Regions from separate parts of the Homo sapiens genome. Here region 2 is linked to region 1. The links are contacts of gene promoters, found by promoter capture Hi-C in human tissues and cell types (Jung and others, 2019). All regions are on one chromosome and are shown on one strand. The core of a region is centred on a gene start or on the middle of the fragment in contact, and the rest is flanking DNA. Distances in the headings are between cores, read along the strand shown.

Evidence for each region. The method cuts DNA at HindIII sites, captures the fragments that hold promoters and counts their contacts. A contact is called where the count stands out against the background at its distance.
Region 2: a contact is called between a fragment that was not itself captured here and the fragment with the promoter of NDUFB6 in region 1, in 2 of the 25 tissues and cell types used here (heart right ventricle and spleen).

The regions. Positions count from the first base shown.
Region 1 is chr9:32,571,055-32,575,054 of GRCh38, reverse strand. NDUFB6 (NADH:ubiquinone oxidoreductase subunit B6) reads left to right here and starts at 1,896. Exons shown (of 4, transcript NM_002493.5): 1 at 1,896-2,174. The coding sequence starts at 1,995. RefSeq lists enhancers at 1,489-1,538, 1,809-2,348. The HindIII fragment of the contact is 12,015 bases long and covers 1-4,000 here.
Region 2 is chr9:32,358,528-32,362,382 of GRCh38, reverse strand. No RefSeq gene overlaps it. Among named protein-coding and RNA genes, the nearest start is that of ACO1, 24 kb to the left of the region's middle. The HindIII fragment of the contact is 5,283 bases long and covers 1-3,855 here.

The DNA.
Region 1 (4,000 bases), core at 647-3,146:
GATGTGTACCTTTGAGATTATGCCACCAAGTGGACCAATTAAGAGCTACTGGTTTTTACTTGATTTTTATGGACTGCTTTTTGTAAATTTAATTTTGTTTTGTAATGATATTGTTAAAATTAAAACTTTAGAAAAATTAAATTTAGCAGAAATTAATTGAGCAATGACCAATTTGAGAATCAGGCAGCCCTCAGAACCAGAGGAGGTTCAGAAAGTATCGTTCCACAAAGAGGCCAGGCAGCACGCATAGAAAAAAAACAGAAATGAGATACAGAAACAGCTTGATTGGCTACAGGTTGGCCTTTGCCTTATTTGAACATGGGCTGATCAGTTGACCACCTGTGATGATTGGCTGAGACTCAGTTATTTGTTACAGAAGTATATTCCTAAGTTAGGCTGTGAGTTAAATTGCATACTAAGTTGGGTTGCAGTTCATTATATAAGGACTCAAAATACGGAGACATCTTTAAGCTAAATTTAATTTCACAATATGAAATATTTACTTGGTTCTAAAGTCAAATTTATGAAGTAAGATGTTTCCAGAGATGTCTAGATTCTATCCCTGTCTCCTCTATCCTATTTATTTCCTCCACCATAGGTAGCATCTTTAAAAACCTCAATTGTTTTCATTCCCATTATTTTGAAAATTTAAGAAAATATGTATATATATTGAAATTACCACCATCTTTCTCTTTTTGGGTAAAAGCATACTGTACAAATTCCTATCCATTTTTTTTCCACTTTGTAATGTATTCTGGAGATCACACCACAGATGTATATAGAGTTCTTCCTTATTACTTTTGACGATTGTATTAGCATTTCATTGCTTTGTTGTGTGAAAGTTTTTGGGAAGCCACTGTTTTGGACTAGCTTCACGCACTAGGCCCCAGCAGACCAGACCAAACCAGAATGGAGTCGTTTGTGCTAAGTACCACACAATCAAACTGAACTTTGAAATGGGCCAGTTTCCCAAAAAATAGGAAATTCCCTTAAGTCTGAGTCAGTGAAACAAGGAAGTTTCTTCTGCTTTAACCCTAAAAGTAACTTTGAAACGATGAGTCCACTTTTTGTTCGGTTTCTGCTTTCTTCAGCCCCTATTTGCCAATAAAACCAACCGCCTCTGCTCAGCTGATCAGAACACTCATTCTACTTTATAGAATGAGGTGTTTTTTGATTCTAGAATCACGAATAAGAGTCAATTAAGATTTTTAAACTAATTCGTTGTAATGCTGTCTTTTGACTGTTGTACTACAATTTATTCAAGCAGTCCTTTATTTAGGAATTTGGGGGTAATTTCCAATATTTTGGTATTATGAATCGTGCTGAATAGTCGTGCATGCTCTTTCATATTTTCACCACACGTATTTTTGGGTGAAAGCATGAATTCATCTATGCAATTTTGCTAGATATTAAGCTACTCTTTTCACTATTCCTGTACAGATGGAGGGACAGATGAGACAGCTGCCCAGGGCACTTCAGCAGTTACTGGCATAGCTGGGATTTGAACTGGGATGTAACTATTTTCATACACTCTCTAGGTCATTCCAAGGTGGGAGAGGCAAGCAAATAATTTTGAATCTGGCCAGCATATTCACTGAAACATTTATGCTTATCCTTCCTCCTCCCAGCATACAAGTTCTTCCTTAGCAAAACCTCCAGTCCTCTAATTTAGCATACTTTCGTCTAATCTGTCACTTTCCTCAGGCCCCACAACTACGAGTACTCCTTGTCCCCACCCGGTCCTAATTTGGTCGGGTATAGCGGAGGTGGGCGTAGAGAGAACTGGAGGTGGAGACCTTTGTGCATGCCCACACACTGCTTTCCTCGCGAGGAATCTGGGGCCCTTGCAGAGGCGGAACCAGGATGTGACGTAATAACCGCGCGCGGCGCTCGGCGTTCCCGCAAGGTCGCTTTGCAGAGCGGGAGCGCGCTTAAGTAACTAGTCCGTAGTTCGAGGGTGCGCCGTGTCCTTTTGCGTTGGTACCAGCGGCGACATGACGGGGTACACTCCGGATGAGAAACTGCGGCTGCAGCAGCTGCGAGAGCTGAGAAGGCGATGGCTGAAGGACCAGGAGCTGAGCCCTCGGGAGCCGGTGCTGCCCCCACAGAAGATGGGGCCTATGGAGAAATTCTGGAATAAATTTTTGGAGAATAAATCCCCTTGGAGGAAAATGGTGAGTGACAGACCTCTCCGGTCCCCCCCAACACATCCCACTGCTGCCGGCAGCCTGAACACTGAACGTCCGCTCCCTGCAGCCACACCAAGGACTGATAACGCTCAGTGCTCTGGGACACTGGCCAGTCCCGAGAGTCCTCCTGGAGTCTCGGGAGGCAGGAGTCCAGGAATATGTATGGCTTTGAGAGAATCATGCCTTTTACTGTCAAGTACAGTGGACGGGGGCGAATTTTAATACTTAGGTTTTCCAGGACGCTGCACGTTTGGTTCTCTTTTGACTGTAGAAATCTTCCCTCAGAATAATAACCAAGGACTCGCTAGAATTAAAATTCTGTGATTTAAGTATTTGAGGACACTTGTCTGACTTTTAAGTGTGAGGTTCTAGAGACCAAGTAACACAGTATCCAACCACCAGAGGGCACAGCCAGCCCCTAGCTGATAGTACAGCCCCATGTGATCCCCGTAAAAGACAGGGTCCTGTTGGTATGCCTTGTGAGTCACATTCAAGAGCTACCTTTCTAAACTACCGTTCTGTACTTTTAACACAGTGTTTCATTAAAAAAATCGCATTTTGGGCTTTGAAGAAAATCACTCATTCAAGAACTTTATTTTCAAGGCCTCTGGGTATTTTCTTGAGGACTGTTATGGATGATAAACATCTCAGAATTGCTTTCAGTTACCTGCAACACTTACTGATGACAGGATAATAGTAGTAACAATACTACGTAACACACGGGTGCTTGCTGTGTGCTTGGCACTCTACTGGGGGTTTTACATGTGTTACTTCATTTCTTTATTCCTGTAAGGTAGATATTCCTAATCCTCATTTTAAATGTGAAGAAACTGAGGCCTACAAAGCTTCAGTGATTTGCTGGTGGTCAGGGAGCTAGGAATTGAATATGAGTTCATATTGTAATCAACATGTATCTGATTCTTACTGTGCTACAAAGTCTAGTGCAATAGAATTGTTGAAAATTTTTCTGAGAAAGTGATATTGGATACTTATTTATGGTGGTAAAATTCAACTCTTCTCCCACCCTTTGTATCCCTGACATTATCGGAATATTGGCAGTCACTGATTTAAAGTTGACATCCCATCCATCAGCAAGTGATATAAGGAAGTAAATAAATAATAATGTGTCGAAGTTCACCTTACCTTACTTTAATTTATTCTTTTATAATCATATCTGTTATAATTCTTAGATTCTGGATTGTCCCTTCCTTGAATGGATAGGTGTTTTTTAATCAAGTTGGAAGACATGGGAAAGTTCCATTTTTAGTTCTTTTTTAAAATAGTGTTGCAGAGGGCATTTTGGAGTGAGTTTGGGACACCCCATCTTAGTATGTAAAACGTCCTTTTTCCAGCATTGGCGTTGTCAAGGTTGTCTGCCTTATACCTAAAATGATGTGAGTGTCATTGATCAATAAATAAGGGAGATGACTATACCTGAAAAATTCTGTAGGTTTGATTACTCTGGTTAAATACATTAAAATTATTCTTTCATTATTTTGCTATATTTTATCTTTAACAAACTTATAATAAGGATATTTTTGGAAGTCTTTAAAAAATCTATAAATGCCTTGTTATAGTCTTGCAAAATACTGCTTAAGCATTTTGGTCTGGACTTTGTAGGTATCTTCTAGCAGACTCTGCATTTACTAAGAATATTTGAGTAGATGAGGTTACCTACAGACTATAAGAAAATATGTGCCATTTAGAGTTTTGTAAAATAGTCATGGCATTGTTACATCATTGATGCCTTTTGTTCTGCCATAAATATAAAAAATGGGATATGTTTATTTTGTGTATGTGTTTTTCCCCCC
Region 2 (3,855 bases), core at 1,247-3,746, 210 kb after region 1:
AGAAAGATAGTTTGAGAGTCCTGGTCCTTGCATCAAAAGCAGAGTATAAAAGGATAGATTTGGAACTGAGAGGCAGCAATTTAATAATCTCCATGGATATGTTCTCCAGGGGTATGGTAGCATTATTATTTTTCAAGTGACAAGTAAAAATTGTGTAAATTTATGGTGTACAAATGATGTTTTCATATATGTATACATTGTGGAATGGCTAAATCAAGCTATTTAGGCATTACTACACATACTTTTTTTGTGGTAAGAATGTTTAATGTCACTCTCTTAGAAATTTTCAGATGTATAATACATTGTTATTACCTGTAGTCACCATGATGTGTAATAGGTCTCTTGAACTTATTCTTTCTAACTGAAATTTGGCATCCTTTGACCAATATCTTCCCAGCCCCCTGGTAACCATCATTATACTCTCTTTCCATTAGTTCAACTTTTTTGGATTCCACATATAACTGAGATCATGCAGCATTTATCTTTCTGTGCCTGGCTTATTTCACTTAATGTAATATCCTCAAGGTTTATCCATGTTGTTCCAAGTGACGGCATTTTCTTCTTTTTTTTAAGACTGAATAGTATTCCATGGTGTATATACACCACATTTTCTTTATCCATTTTTCCACCGATGAGCACTTAAGTTGATTCTTTATCTTGGCTATTGTGAATAATGTTGCAATGAATGAAAGGGTGTAGATATCTCTTTGAGATCCTGATTTCATTTCCTTCGGATATATAGTAGTGGGATTGCTGGATCATGGGGTAGTTCTATTTTTAGTTTTTTGAGAAACCGTCATACCATTTTCTACAATGGCTATGCAGATTTATATTTCCACCAACAGTGTACAAAGGTTTTCTTTTCTCCATGATGTGGTGGTATAATCATGCATGCCCATCACTAAGTGTGGGAGTGCCTGTTTCACTACGTCCTTAGCAACAGAATGTTTTGTTAAGCAGTTAGATTTTTGCCATTAGATGTTTCCTTTAAACAACAGTTATTTATCATGCCTTGTAAACAGTTCCACAGAATAGAAAATGATGGAAATTATAATAGCGCTCACTGCTTTTATGCTTATCATATATAATGGCATTAATAATGCTTGTAAAACACTTCACAACTATACAGAAATACAGCTGACACAGACTAATGAACAACTCTATGACCAAGGATAAATGATGGTGCAAGGTAGCTTAAACCATCTGTTAGCAACAGTGATATACTTTCGGGGGAGCCTTGCTCTGTTCCCAACAATTGAAGTAGAGAAACTTCTGTATTTTTATCTTTTTGAATTTTATAGTTTGTTTCACTCAGATTTAAGCCTAGAACAACTTTTGGTATAAAATGAGGCTCCTTGTTAAAAACTTCTTATTCTTTGCTTATTTTAAGATTAACTACAAAAATCAACATGTAGAAAATACCCCCATAGGTTGTTTCCATTTAATATGTACTTTTGACATTCATAAATATTTTTTACAAAAGTTGGTTTGTCATTTCAAATTTTTATACCTTTACTAATGAAGTAATTGTTTCTTATCTCTAGTTTCCTGAATCCGATATTCTTTTTAGAAAACATTTACTTTTCTAATTTTTATTTATATTAGAATTCTAAAGAATTGATTAAGTTGATTCTTTATCTTGGCTATTGTGAATAATGTTGCAATGAATGAACGGGTGTAGACATCTCTTTGAGATCCTGATTTCATTTCCTTTAGATATATAGTAGTGGTATTGCTGGATCATGGGGTATATAATAATATAAATAATTATTTACATTAGAATAATATATATAATTATTCATATTACTTATTAAATAATAATTATTAAATAATTATTATATATAATAATCATTTATATATAATTATCATTTATATAATTATTTATATTATGTTATAATATAAATAATTATTTATATTATATTATGTTATAATATAATTATATATATTATATTATAATATAATATAAATAATTATTTATATTACTCTAATATAAATAATTATTTATATTACTCTAATATAAATAATTATTTATATTACTCTAATATAAATAATTATTTATATTACTCTAATATAAATAATTATTTATATTACTCTAATATAAATAATTATTTATATTACTCTAATATAAATAATTATTTATATTACTCTAATATAAATAAAATATTAGCTAGGCATCACAGTAGTTAAAATATATTGAATATGAAAATATGCTCCCTGCTGGGGAACACCACTCAGAGACACATCTCCTTACATTCTAGACACATTCTCTATTGAGTTTAGAAATGTTTGATTGAAATCTGTAAAGGTTAAGTCATCATATTAATAGCAGTGCTATTAACAATCACAAAATTAATGGGAATAATAATGAGCCCTGGTGTGTAAAATGCCATAGTTAGCATAAACACCATAATGCCTCTGTGTATGACATTTTTGTATTGCCACAGGGAAAAGTTCAGTGAGCTAGTTCCCCAAGTACAGCCAATACATTATTACTGCAAATAAACTGCTCATTATCTAAGATGTTTTGCAACTTTTGGAGAAGCAAAATGAGGCATTCCTGAAGGAAATATTTGTTGTTGTGTTGTAAAATATAAAAGTGATTTTTAAAGAGGTGAAATTAAGAACAGTTCTATACATCACATTCATTATCATTTTAAAGTAAAACATGTTCACTGCAAAAACTTTGAAAATACACACGTGCACACATACATATCCACCACTGAAAACTACCCATAGTCCTACCACCCACGGGTGATGTATCACTGTATAAATTTAGTTCTATCAGTCTCTGTCCTAACTCGGTAAGTGGGGAACACACAGTTGGTAGTTTCATATGTTGCATTTTCAAAATATAACATCAAAAACTTTTCTCAGGTCACCGAAAGTTAATTAAAAACATGATTTTAGTATTATTGCATTGTCTTTATTTAACCACTGATAGCCCCTGGTTTTTAGCTACTCAAATTGCCCTCCAGAAAACTTTTATCAGTTTAAATTTTCACCAGCTGGGACAGAGTAGCTGTCTTTCAGAATCCTTCACAACTCTGGATATTATTATTGGTTTTTTGTTAACTTGATGGGATAAATCGATAATTGATACTCATTAAATATTTATATTTTTTGAATACGAATTTGTAAATAAAATTATAAGACTCAAATATGCTTGATGTAGCCATAATTGAAATTATAGTTGAAATCAGACAAATGAAAACGTGCACATACAAACATTTGTACATGAATGTTAATACCAGCATTATTTATAATGGCCAAAAAGTATAAACAACTCAAATTCCCACTAACAGATGAATGGATAAATGTGGCATATCCATATAATGAATATTTTTTGGCAATAAAAAGGAATAAAGTACTGCTACATGCTATACCATGAATGCACCTTGAAAACATCATGTTAAGTGAAACAAGCCAGTCACAAAGGACTATATATTTTGTGATTCCATTTATGAAATATCCAGAACAGTTAAGTCCTGGACAAAATATTAGCCAATTTAATCTATCAATATAGGACAGTATATAATGAACAAAGAGGTTTATCTCAGGAAAGCAAGGCCAACTCAACAATTGAAAAATCAACCAGCATTTCACTATATCAACAGACTAACAAAGACAAACTATAGGCTAGGCACGGTGGCTCACACCTGTAATTCCAACACTTTGGGAGGCTAGGGAGGGCAGATTGCTTGAGCCCAAGAGTTTGAGACCAGCCTGGGCAATATGTATCTCTACAACAAACCACAAATTAGTCAGGTGTGGTGGTGTGTGCCTGTAGCCCCAACTACTTGGGAGGCTGAGGTGGGAGGATTGCTTGAGCCCCAGAGGTCAAGGCTGCATTGAGCC